Linked DNA regions of Homo sapiens: region 1 is linked to region 2. The links are contacts of gene promoters, found by promoter capture Hi-C in blood cells and fetal thymus (Javierre and others, 2016). All regions are on one chromosome and are shown on one strand. Each heading gives the region's core, a stretch centred on a gene start or on the middle of the fragment in contact. The rest is flanking DNA. Distances are from core to core; before and after follow the strand shown.

Region 1 (6,908 bases), core at 3,206-5,705, 580 kb before region 2:
TTCTCCCTTGCCCATGTCTTCTCTTCCTCATAAGGCCTATCCTTCACCCCAGCTATCTGTCCAAATTCTATTCATCTTTCATGTTCAACTGTAACATTAACTTAAGGAGATGGACCTCCACTGAGCCCTTGCTGCAGTGCTGAACTGTATTGGCTGATTCTTTGTATCTTAGGAATTGGGAGCATCTGGAGTACATGGACTGTGTTGTGTTAGTCTGTATACAGCAAAGCTTAGCATTGTGTGGCATGGAAGTCCCTTAATAAAGATTTGGGGAGAGAAAATGGGAGGGAGAAAGAGGAAAGAAGGCAGAAAGAAGAAATAATTAGTGAAAGGGAGGCAATGTATTCTTTCTCTCTTTCGGCATTTTATAACATTTTACCAGCTGAAGTAAATTAAATTTATCATCTGACATTTAGGATATCTCCAAGAACACGGTTTTAGGTGGCTTTTGGCTGAGACTCTGTTCTAGCCAGTGACTTCACTCAGAGACAGAAGGAATAACTACCACCACAGTAGAAATAACATCAAACAACAATGAACACTTAGTGAGCCCCTGTTAGGTACCAGACCCCATACTAAGCATCTTCTATGCATTATCTCATTAATCACCACAATCGCCCAATGAGTGGATACTGTTCCTCTTTTCAGATAAAGAAACTAGCATAGAGATATGAAGAAACTTGCCAAGGTCACACTGCTTGTCAATAGCAATATTAGGGTATTAAATCAGGCTGTTACCCACCAAAGCCAAACTTATAACCATTACACTATGGTGCTTCTCTAAGGAAGTGATGTATGTTTTCATGCCCAGAAAGGCCCACAAGATAGCAGAGTGGATCCTAAAGAGACACCTAAAGCTTTGGTCAATAAAAGGCATTTAATGCAAATTAAAACTACAGTGAGACATCATCTTACACCAGTCAGAATGGCTATTATTAAAAAGTCAAAAAATAACAGATGTTGGCAAGGATGTGGAGACAAGTGAATGCTTATACACTGTTGGTGGGAATATAAATTAGTACAACCCCTCTGGAAAAGAGTGTGGAGATTTCTACAATTGAACTAAATATAGAGCTTCCATTCAATCCAGCAATCCCATAATGGTATTTTCCCAAAATAAATAATTATATTAAAAAGAGACTTGTAATTGTAGGTTTATTGCAGCACTATCCACAACAGCAAAGATTTGAAATAAAACTAAGTGATCATCAATGGTTGGATGGATAAAGAAAATGTGTAAATGTACAATGGAATACTATTCGGCCATAAAAAATGAAATCACATCTTTTGCAGCAATGTGGATGTAGCTGGAGGGCATTATCTTAAGTGAAACAACTCAGCCAAATACCACATATCCTCACTAATAAGTAGAAGCTAAATAATCACACATGGACGTGGAGTGTGGAATAATAGACACTGGAGACTCAGAAGGGTGGGAGAGGTGGAAGTGGGGTGAGGGCTGAGAAATTACTTAATAGGTATAATGTAAATTATATGAGTGATGGTTACACTGAAAAGCCTAGACTTCACCACTTTGCAATATACCCAGGCAACAAAACTGCACTTATACCCTTAAATTTATACAAATAAAAAGATGTTTAAAAACCCTCAAAACCCAAATGCATTAACATGTGATGACATTTCCTTATAGAAGCAAAATGAAAGTCACTCTCATAATGAAATCTGACTGCTTATTTGAGTTGGTGGGGGGAGGTGGAAAAGTGGTGAGCAAGAAAAGCAGAAGCAGCTGATGGAGTAGTTTGCACAATTTCCCACTAAATTGAAACAACAAATAATAAAATGGTTATTGCACTCAATTGGGAGGCATCAAATAGATTATTGTAAGGTAAATATTATAATAGTGAGGCTCTCAGGCAGAATCAATTCCCCAACAACCGGGAGAGGTTTTGTCTTAGGTCACAAATGCATGTCCTCCACAAAACAAGGCCCTCATATGCTAAGTGAGGGAGAAAGCATTAGGTGGAGAAGCACTTTCAAAGAGAGGGCAATTGAATTTTGAACAGCAATGAAACAAGCTTCACAAGAGTTGGTTTCAAAATTAAATGGTTTGTATGATGATCACTTTGACTTCCAGTGCATCAAAACATAAAATATTATTTTACATGCATTTCCACAGCCCATTTCTCTGTAATACCTCACTGCTTTGACAAGCATGTTACGTTAGAAGGAAATAACACACAAAGGGATGTGGGCTGCCTGGGGACCAATCATATGGGAGTCTTTGTGACTTGCTTAAGATTATTCAAAGATCAATGCAAAGAAACGTGTCTTGCCTCTCTCCCCTAAATCTTGTCTGGAATCTCTTGGAGAGAATTTGCAGCTTTGAGTCCTCAGCTTGGGAAACTCTTCACCTTGGTTCTGCACATATTAAATTTCAGAATGTTCTACTCTCAAATTATTTATTCTCAGTGATGGTCACTTGTTGGCTGACAGGTCATTTATTTAGATGTAAGTAGAAGGCAGTAGGACACCATAAAAAGCATCTACTTCCAACTCCCTGTCCTCAGATAAGACTACTACACATGAAGTATTTATGGTACATTGTTTGCAAAAATGACCACAATCCTTTATCCTTCCCTATATGTGTACTCTTTGTACTGTGGCTTGCAGCTTCTCCCATCAAGAGACAAAGTTTTTCATCTGCCTTTGAATCTTAGGTCTTGCTTCAACCAATAGAATGTGGTGGAATTGACACTATGCTGGTTCTGAGCATGGGTCACAAGAAGACATGCACCCTTCCATTCATTTCCTTTGTCCCTGCTTTTGCCATATATATATGTATATATATACACATATGTATACATATAGATATATACACATATGTATACATATAGATATATATACACACACACACACACACACACATATATATATATATATGGACTCTGAATTTCAAACCCAAGAAGGAGTGGTATAGTATAAACTAAATAGGAAGAGTGGTAGGGAGGGGAAGAGAAAATTAAAAGACAAGTGTTAGACTTTCCAGTCCATAGATGACCAAGTTATGCTGCAACAGAACATGGGTCTCACTCACTAATAAACATCTATTAGAAATTTTTGATGCCTCAAAACTCAAGTTTCTTGTTTAGCATGTGTAGGGAGGGGCCTAGTATTTTAATACAGAGCTTCTCAAACATTAGTGTGTCTATTAATTATGTAAGGATCTTACTACAAGGCAGATTCTGATTAAGAAATTCTGCAAGAGGCTGTAGATTCTGCAGTTCTATCAAACTTCCAAGAGATGCTAATGCTGCTGGTCCCTAGACACATTTTGAGTAGCAAGGATCTAGAGTACTAGCTGGATTCTTCAAATAAGATCTAAAGTCCTGATACAAATTCCACTCAAGGACCTGAGAAAACCTGAAAGTAAAGCCCTAAAGTATGATCAGAAGTCATTTAGAAACATAGGTGCATGAGATATATAAATATACATGGAAAATAAATATATATACATAATATAGTTTCTGTTTCAAAGAGGACAAAATACTCCCAAAGATCAGAACAAATTGTAAAAAAAAAAAAAAAAAAAAAAAAAAAAACTTTTTTTGAGATAATCCAGAAAATTTTGACTGCTAGCTGGATATTTGATGATATTTAAAAAGATCATGTTTTAATTGTAAAATGTCATTGTGATTATGTTTCTAAAAACAACTCTGTTTTGAGGAATACCTACTGAACTCTACACAATTAAATATTCTAATACTATTCAAAACAATCCAGTGGTGGTTGGGAAGAAGTGGGTGATAAAACAGGGTAGCCAGAGAGATAAGTTCTGAAGCTGGGAGCTGGGAGTGGGGGGTTATTTTGCTAGTTTTTCTGCTTTTCTATGTATTTGAAATTTTCCAAATTTAAAGTTGTAAATAAATAGTTATGCAAAAAAGGGAAAGAAGGATGGAGGAAAGGAGAGAGGTGGAGAGAGAGGAAGAGAGGGAGAATAAGAGAAAGAGAAATATTCAGAGAGAATAGTCTCATCCAAGTTCCCTGCAAAAAAAAAATAAATAGGTTCAGCAAAATAACTGATTCCAACCTCAATGCTAGGTAATATTCTAAGACATATTATTGAGATAGTGGAAGTTAAGTTTTAAAAACAGAAAAAGATGAGATCACTGGGTCCTTCTCAGGACAGATTGCTAAGGACTCTGGCTTTTTTATTATGGCTTTTTGACAGGCATGTTAGATCCTGTAGATTTAAGGCCTCTGAATTCAGAGCATTTGTCAAAGTCTTCTGTGATCTTTATAAAGAAGGCAAAAATTGTGGCTCAGATGATAGCATGGCAAGGTGGATTCATGACCAGTTGAATGTCCACCCCCAGGAGGAATAGATTAGGAGCCAGCATGAGGCTGGAGGCAGCTCTTTAGTGGAACACTGAAGGAGTCCTGTTCAACATGTTGTAGTTTTTTAAATCAATGACAGGTGAAGATAAACAAGATGTTTTGGCCAAATTGACAGGGGGGCATAAGGTCTAAAGGACTACCTTATAATATATTTGACAACGGAATTATAATCTAAAGACATATCAACATGCTACAGCTAAGAACCAGTGTTAGCAGGCTGAAATTAATAGCATTTTTGATCAGTCAGCCAGGAAAATTCAAAATGAGAAAAAGACTTCTCAGTGGACCACGTGCACCTAGGGGTACTTATTAGCTACAGACGGCCAGGACTCCTCCCCCTGAATTTTGCCATCATCCTGTACTGGTTTGGGAAGCACTGACTTCAAGATCTCTCATTGTAAATTACATAAGAATCAGGAATGTAAGCGGCTGCTAAAGCCAATTTGATCTGCTAATTTTATTGTAGGGTACGTTAAAACAATTACTTCTCCAGAAGAGAAGAGGGAATAAAAGCAATAATTGCATCTACAGTTTAGTAAGCATTTACTATGGTGAGGCATTGCACCAAGTATTTTGCATACATTATCTCATTTAATAGCCACATAATTCTTTCCATGTGGGTGTTAAAAACTTCATTTCCTACATGGGGAAACTTGAGTTCAGAGTGGTTCAATGACGGCTGAAGCCACACAGCTGCTGAGCATCAAAATGGAGATGCGAGTGGAGCTTCTGTGGTACAGCAGCAGCTTAGGAATGCAATGCTTGCTCTCACATTGTCTGGGCTGGCCCCCCAAAAATTCCAAGCACAGGGTTGAGCTCTGGTTACTGTGCTTTAAGAGAGCATCAGAAAATCTTAGCCTGTGTCCAGAAGACTGTCTCACTGATCAAGGCAGTGAGAGAACAAGCACATCATATGTGGTCCAATTAGAAGAAAGATAGAAGAGTCAACTTAGAATGTCACGGTAGGTGCTTAGTAAATGTTTGCTAAAAGACTAACTTTAGCTTGAAAAAGGAATTTTACGGAGTCTGCTGTTTTGGTTATCTATCATTACATAAAAAACTGTTCGAAAAACATGGCTTAAAACAGTAACCATCATTTATTTTTATCTCTCATGGTTCTAGGAGCTAACTGGGCTGAGCTGGGCAATTCTCACTCGGTCTCTCAAGTTTTTGCAGTCAGTTGGTGGTGAGGGCTGGTATGGGGGGAAAGAAATATCTTCTCATCCATCGCCAGGTTCATGGTGAGACCTCTGTAACAAAAGACATATTAACAAGAGAAAAGAGTACAGTAAGTCTAACATGACATGGGAGCCTTCATGAAGAAATGAAGACCCAAATAAACAGATAAACTTGTATCTTTTTATGCTACATTTGATAAAGAAGTAAATAGTTGTGGAGAAGTATGGTTGGACAAAGGGTAGATCATCTAGTGGTAATAAACTGGGGGGAATTTAGCAAGGCCTGTTTGTTCAGATTCTTCTCTGTGTCCCTGTGTCTTCAGCGATAAGGGTGTTTCTTTCCTTCATGTAATAGGATGGCACATCGGGAATAAGTGTCTTATGACTTGCTTCAGGGAAGAAGGACAAGGAGAAAGTGGGAATGACCTTCCTGCTTCTGCTATTTTCTTAAATGCCAAAATGCCATATTTGGGGAATAGCATGTCCAAAACCACATCACTGGAATAATCTCAAAAGCTGTTGAACTCAACTACTTGGAAGTTACATAATCACTCAGGGTTTGAAAGTATGTGTCACAAGCGATCGAGTCCAGCAGTAGCTGTATTGTCTTCTCCAATCTGTCCTAGCAAACCACACAGTGTGCCTTCTGTATTCTGTTTGTCAAGTCAGTCACCAAAGCCTGCCCAGTTTCAAGGGGGTGGTGAGGGGGATGTAGACTCCACCTCTTGACAGGGGAGGGAAAAGGTTTGGAGAAAAGGTTTTTGAGAAAGTTTATGGAACCAGAAATGTGATTGAAGCCATTTCTGGAAAATACAATTTGCCACATCTGCCTAGGAATATTTGGGGCAGAGGTGGGGGACTAGAAGTGTTGTATGTGGACAGAGAAGGTAGAACTAAGCCAGGTCATGAAAAGAAGTAAAATAGAGACAAATTTGGATTCAAGAAAGGAAGATGTTTTCAAGACGCTGGATTATTTTTAAGGGGGAATGAATTTTCTGCCATTGAAACATGGGCTGTCAACACGTTTCTAGGGTCTGATACAGTGAGGTATCTGATCCCTCCAGCTCAGTGTGTCCAGGACTAATCTGTTAGGGGTCAGTGGCTGGAGCAGGAAGTCTTCATGAGAACCAGAAAGGCTAGAGGACCGAGCAAAGCTGAAAGTTAAAATGTTTTTAATTTTTAAAACTTTTTAAAAATGGTGAAGCCCAGGCTGCAGGAGTGGGGTTAGAAGGTTTACTGAATGTGGCAGGAGCTGGAAGTGAACTTTTAAGTTGGGGATGTGAACAAGAGTTTGAAACCAGAGAGGATCAAATAAATAGAATTAAAGTAGATCTAGAACTAAAGCTTTGGAGGAGCAGAGCAGGGAAGGATGGC
Region 2 (6,905 bases), core at 1,989-4,488:
GCTCATCATGTTGCACCCATAGTGTTTGATTGACTCCTGAGATATTTGAACTCAGGAGGATGTTACAAGCACCTAGCAGGATTAGAACCTCAAGTGCAAAGGGGCAAACACATTCAAGCTTCATCACAAACTGTAAACAATTTTTCCAAGTTGATAGGCTAGAAATTGTGAATTCACAATGCTGCAATTTATTTTTATGGGTTCTCTAGTGGTTCCACAATAGCATATTCCTCACAAAAGTAATCTCTGAATTCTCAGGTAGAGCTTTTACTGGTCTCCTCTCCAAAATGCTTTTCACATTGCAGCCTTGGTAATCTTTTCAAAACACACATCTGATCAACTCTCTCCCTCTATCTCAAATACACTACATGCTGCTTAAAACCCTTTATGGCTTCTCAATATTCTGAAGTTAACATGAAGCAAAAAACACCTCTTAAAAGGACCTACACTACCCGGCCATTCCTTTGACTCCTACTGCACCTTGTCCCACTGTCTGCATTGCAGCCACTTTTCTGGGTTACTCGTATGCCTCCCCTGCCCCACTGCAGTGCCTTTGCACGTGCTTCTCTATGTAACGCGTTCCATTCTCCTTCTCCTCGTCCGTTCATCATCACTTCCAGTGCTGCTTCCTCAGGGTAATGTTTCTCATCCTTCTGGTGTAGATCAAATTCCCCATGTGCCTGTCCTCCACAGTGTTTGTCACCCTGCATTTTGGTCCTGAACCATCTGATGATTTGGTTAATACCTCCCTTCCTAGGGCTGGCTGGTGAACTCTCTGAGAGTAGGAGCCCTGTCTTTCCTGTTCCTAGCTGAATCCCCATGCATCCCAGTTCACTCACAGTGGTCGGCATAAAGGAGTTCAATATATACTTGCTGAATGAATGAGTGAATAAATGAAGGTCAAAAATCAAGGGGTTTTCGTAGGGCTTTTCACCTTTACCACTACCCTGTATTTGCACGTTCCTTAACAATTTCCTAAAATGCTTTCAGATAAGCTTTTTTAATATTAACAACTGACTTTAAGAGCAGAAAGGGCAACCCATGCAGGTGACTTGTCCAATGCTACATGACTAGTAAGCAACAATTTGGGACTATTTCACTTTGTCACTTTTCAGATCAGGCCTATGGCCATTAAACAGCCAAAACAGGAAGCAAAAGAAGATAACGTAGAACTTACTAGGGAATAGATACACAAAGACAATAAAATAGAAATATCCAAACAAATTAAAATAAAAACACAAATTTTATTTTAGACTGATAAAACTTTGGTTCAGGGAACACAGACAAAAATCCTCTGCTGTCATTTCAGCATGTACCGTTTGGGCTATGAGGAAAAGCATGTCATCTTTCTCTGTATAACAGAGGCAGTTAATATTTTATCCTAATTCTCATTAAAATGTGTACGTTCAATAAATGTCGGCTATTAAACTGTTGGTGAGAAAGTCTATTTCTGGAAACCTTTTCATTATTTCCTTAATAAGACTATTTATGGTTTTTTTAAGGAAACAAGACAAAACGTAACCACTTAGCAGGTTAAAAGGGTAGCTGGAGTTGCCTTACTTTCAAGGAGCTACCTCAAAATAACTAGGGTTCATTTATCTAATATTTTAAGACTTCTATTAATATTGAAACACAATTTGTAGTTAAAGAGAAAAATTTAAATCACCTAAGAAAATAATTCAGGGCCTTTATAGTTTTACATTAATATGCCCTTTAATATCCAGATGTTACTTACCTAATAAAATGTACAATTAGCTGTGAATTGACATGAACAAGTATTTACTGAGCACCGATTACGCCGAAAGCTCCGTACTTTCTATGGGGTTTATATAAGAGCAATTCGAGTCTCCCCACTACCTCACTTAGTTTAAGCTCATTTTGCCCTGAGTTTATCTGGTAGCACTTTATTTTAGCGGACAAGGAGGGAAGTGGGGAAAGGAAAGGAATTATAAAAATACAAGGTAGACGTGCACAAGAACCTTCGTTCTATTATTATTTAGTAAAGTGAGAACTGGAAACAGCTTAACGTCCAGGGTAAGTTAGTTTCACTCACTCGACGGAATGTATGCAGCCGTTAATGTATTTCTGCATTTTCCCATATTTCCAGTGAACATACAGTACTTTCGCAATTCGGAGTACAAACGAAAAAGGGCGAGAGAAGGTCGCATTTTGCCTGCCGGAGCTAGGGGCGCGCTTGCCGGTTCCAACGAGTTTTCGGTGTCGGAAAACTTGTCTTTGCTCACATTCTCGGATTCCCGCGGCCGCAGAAGCCGGAGGCGGGACGTGAAGGGCAATGAGCAAGGTAGGCTGTGTCACTGCCGCCGCGGGCTCACTCGCAGCGCCAGCCGAGGAGCGCCACGGGCTGCTGAACCCCTCGGCCCGACCCACGCGCCGAGGGCTAGGATAATGCGCCTGCGCGGCCGTCACGTGGTGAGGGCTCCGCGCAAAGCGGGTTAAAAGTCACGACCGCGGAGAGCCCGCGAGCGTCCTGCTGGTCGGTGCGGCGCTTTCCGCGTCCTTTAAGACGAGTTTGACCGAGGCCGCTCCGCAGTTCCCGCCCCTCGGCCCAGCTCAGCTCCATGAACCTAGCGGAGCCGCCTAGTACCCTTTCTCGCCGACCGCACAGGCGCGCGAAACCGCGTCTTTCAACTGACAATGAAGCCGTAGCCGCGCAGCTCGGCCACTCCGGGCGAATCGGCGCGAGGCCGGGATGGTGGGGGGGAGGGGGAGACGGTTGGGTCAAGCTCCGCCCCAGCTCGCGCCCCTATTGGTGGGCGCAGCGGTTCTGGGCCCGCCCCCTAACGGACCTGTCGCTTTGTGACAGGCGGAGGGGCCAGTTCCTGTCGGGCCGGAGGCGGAGTCAGAGGTTGCTTGAGCTCCGCCCGGACTCCAGGGGGCTCCTCCCCCTGCTCCTTTCGGCTGGGCGGGCGGCGGGCTAGAGAGGGAATGTCATTGCTTCTCAGAGCCGTGGTGCCGCCTCCGTCTGCTGCTTCTTTCCTGGCGCCCTCGTCCCGTCGGCTTTCGCCGCCGCCGCCGCAGCTGCACTGGGGATACGGATGGCTAGTGGGGCGCCGGGGCCATCTGGGTTGAGAGAGCGGCGATTGCGGCCGCTGCTGAGGCGGAGACTCCCCGCCGCCGCTTCCTCCACCCCCAGTCCGCCGGCCTCGCGGCGCTGAGGGCGGGAGCGCGCAGAGCTCTTCCCTCCTCCTTTTTCTTCCTCCTCCTCCTCCTCCTCCGGGTCCCCGCCCAGCACCCCTCGCACCAGGCGGCGGCGGCGGAGGAGGAGAGCTAGACCCGCCGCCGGGGCACAACATGGCGGAGCCCTCGGCCCCGGAGAGCAAGCACAAGTCGTCCCTCAACTCGTCCCCGTGGAGTGGCCTCATGGCCCTGGGAAACAGCCGGCACGGCCACCACGGGCCCGGGGCCCAGTGCGCGCACAAGGCGGCGGGCGGCGCGGCGCCGCCGAAGCCGGCCCCGGCGGGGCTGTCCGGGGGGCTGTCGCAGCCGGCTGGGTGGCAGTCGCTTCTCTCCTTCACCATCCTCTTCCTGGCCTGGCTTGCCGGCTTCAGCTCGCGCCTCTTCGCCGTCATCCGCTTCGAAAGCATCATCCACGAGTTCGACCCGTGGTAAGTGCCTCGCCGCCCCTCCCCCGCCCGTGGCCCGCGGGGAACCGGGACCCGCTCCTCCGCCCGCCGCAGCTCTCCTCGACTTGGCCCCGCGCCGCCGCGGAGCCCCGCTCGCGTCCTGGCTGAGGCCGGCGCGGATCCCGGAGCTCCGGGCGCGCCCCCTGCCCGTGGGCGAAGTTTGCCCCGTGCAGCCTGAGGCGGGGCGTCGGGGTCCAGGAGCGAAACCTTGATTCTCGGCCGGGCTAGTGTGAAGACTGCCAGGAGTGTGGATGCAGCCGCCGGGAGTGTGGGTGCAGCCGCCGGGAGTGTGGGTGCAGTCCCTCGCAGCCCGCTTTGGTCGCTGAGTCCGGACCCGCCACGCCAGGAGGCGGCAGGTAGCTCCTCCGCGGACTGTCGGTCGATTCCCCGCCCTCCTCGCCCGCTGCTTTCGCGTTCTTTCATATTTGCGGGCGCGTTTTTGCTAGTTCAGACGGAATCGGCCAGGGGGGCTGCCCTGTTGCCGCTGGAGGTGGGTCCAGATGTGCCGGAACCCCGGCTGCTCACCCTTGCAGTTTTACGCTTTTACTGTTTCTTTTTATGCTCTCATGATACGAGAAGGGAAAAGGAGAGTGAATGGCGTGTTGGAGGGAAGGAAATAATACCCCTGAAAGTGATCTGAAAGCTAGCTACTCTTATTTATTTATCATTAGGTATTTTAAAGAGTGGCTTTTTTTCAGAGCTCTTAAGTGCACTCAGCACCTTACTGTTTCACTATCGTCTTGGGTTGCTTTTTAGAACAAGATCCTTACCCTGTTAGCCACTGTCACCCTTAGTGTGTTATGCACAGTATCTGAAAGCATTGCATTAGTTCCTTTATTGGTCTGCAGGAAGGTTTGTGGATAAGAGCAAACAGTACCACGGTGATGGGAGTCCTAGATTGTAATACCGAAGTTGCACATGGTGTAAGGGACTGACCTGAATGTTTTAGGAAATTACCCCACTCTTAACAACACTAGCTAACTTAGACACTACATTGGTCTGTGAATTATCTAGATGGAAAGATTGCTTTAACTTTTTTTTCGCAACTTGCCCAACCCGAGTTAGGATTTTTCCCCCTGAGTTAGGATTTTCCCCTCTGAGAGTATGCCTTTTAAACTAGTGTTATCTTATTGACCTGTCAACCTTGAGTTAATCTTACTTCCTCACAGTTAGACCTAATTAAATTTCAGGATATTTGTTTCATCATTTGAGATTCAAAGAGAGAGAGTCTTTTTTGAGAGTTACTAACTATATAGATAATAAGTGTTCGGGTGGAGGGGGGCAGTAACTTACCTGTATAGTAATATACCAGATTTAAGTTCTGCATTATGGAGAGAAAAATTGGTACTGCAACATCTATTGAACACCAGAGGGGCCCACTCATGGACAATTCAATTTAGATCAGTTAATTACTGTGACAGTCTTCCATGAAATGTTTTCATTCCATTTTAGAAGTTTTGATTTTGTTTTCTAACACTAGTTTTTTTAAAAAATAACCTTTTTGTTAACGTGCAATCACAGAAGAAAATATGTTAGTGTAGACTATTTATGAGCCTAAGAATACCTGTGAAGGCTTATTGACACAATATTATTAGGTGGTCTTGTTTTGAAATACTTAAGCAAGTTAGATAAAAATGAAATTGGAACCAGAAAATGAAAACTAGTATTTACTGGACAATATGAAAAGAGAAAGTTCTCTTTTCAGATTAAAATAGCAGAAATGCATGGTTGACCAAACATTTCAGGTAACAAAATTGTGAATATTTCCATAGTAACATTTTTACAAATGGAAGGCTAACGACTGTTTAATAGTAACTCTGGGGCTGAAATTAAAGATTGCAGAAAAATTCACTACTGAATGATGAGATTTTGGTCATTTTTCCTTAAGATTAGAAATCTGCATCAAGTCAGCCAAAGATCCCCACTAAAATTGAGTAATGCAATAATGAAAAGGCTCAACAAGTAAAGTGGCTAATATTTTTATTTTTTATTTTTTATTTTTATTATTTTTTTTTTTTTAGTGTAGCTAAGTATTAAAAGTTTTCTTTTTCCAGCTTCAGTAGTGTGGTTGGAGGGCATAATTCTTTTTCATGCACATGAAAATATGTTTTGGTCGGGCGCGGTGGCTCACGCCTGTAATCCCAGCACTTCGGAAAGCCGAGGCAGGTGGATCACCTGAGGTCAGGAGTTCGAGACCAGCCTGGCCAACATGGTGAAACCCCCTCTCTACTAAAAATACAAAAATTAGCCGGGAGTGGTGTCGGGCGCCTGTAATCCAGCTACTTGGGAGGCTGAGGCAGGAGAATCTCTCGAACCCGGGAGGCGAAGGTTGCAGTGAGCCGAGATCGCGCCACTGCACTCCAGCCTGGGCAACAAAGAGCGAAACTCCGACTCAAAAAAGAAAATATGTTTTGCTTCATTTTTTATATATATGAAAACGCATTTCTGACACATTATCATTTAGCTAAATTTGTACCATTTGAAAGTATACATCTCTGTTTTAAAGAGCTACTTAATTTAGGTATTCTGCATATAGTTTTAATGTTGACATTTCTTAATTAAATGTTTATATTCATAATGTTAGATAATCTTGCTTAGTAGTAAGGAGATTTGTATAATAATGGACTGTCTCCTGTGCCTTACCGTGAATGGAGATTTGTCAGTATGAATCTAATATAATGTCTAATTCAGGTGACTTAATGAGAGAATCAGGTTTCAGACAAAAAAAATACCTTGTTCTTGTTTTTTTTTCATGTCTTTTGAAGATCTCACGTAGTTAGGCATCTCATTCATTCTTATCTGATTCTTACAGTCATTCTTTTTGAAAAGGTTAAAAGGAGGGGGATGTGTAGATTGCCTGCCATTATTACTTTGGGCTTTTAAAGCTTTTCGGGGCTTTTAAATCTAGTTTTCTTCTATAGCTACTAATAGTCGCAACACTTTAACTGGTCTGTAGCTGAACACTCTAGTGTTTCTAGTTTGGGAGTTGCTCAGATCACCATCATATCATATAGCAATGGCACAGACCTTTAATAATATTTAAATGTTACTCTCAGGCTGTGCATCCACAAACCGATTTATTCTGGCCTGCTCATACCTTCCCTGACCTCTTTTTCCATATCTCTATCAATGGTTTCATTTCTGCAAGTCGTTTTAGTGAAGGGTTTACTTTCTCTGTGAGCTATTTCTTTAAATTTTACAGTAGTTCTTAAATTGTGTAAAAGACTCAAGTTAGCTGCTGAAAGTGACGTCACAGAGTTA

What was found. The method cuts DNA at HindIII sites, captures the fragments that hold promoters and counts their contacts. A CHiCAGO score of 5 or more calls a contact.
Region 1: a contact is called between a fragment that was not itself captured here and the fragment with the promoter of STT3B in region 2, in 1 of 17 cell types (monocytes). The highest score is 6.9, in monocytes.

Annotation. Positions count from the first base shown.
Region 1 is chr3:30,946,913-30,953,820 of GRCh38, forward strand. No RefSeq gene overlaps it. Among named protein-coding and RNA genes, the nearest start is that of GADL1, 56 kb to the left of the region's middle. The HindIII fragment of the contact is 4,842 bases long and covers 2,035-6,876 here.
Region 2 is chr3:31,529,687-31,536,591 of GRCh38, forward strand. It overlaps STT3B (STT3 oligosaccharyltransferase complex catalytic subunit B), which reads left to right and starts at 3,239. Exons shown (of 16, transcript NM_178862.3): 1 at 3,239-3,626. The coding sequence starts at 3,313. RefSeq lists silencers at 2,562-2,821, 3,132-3,361, 3,392-3,521, 3,602-3,751 and enhancers at 2,922-3,061, 3,912-3,971, 5,411-5,912, 5,913-6,412. The HindIII fragment of the contact is 5,534 bases long and covers 994-6,527 here.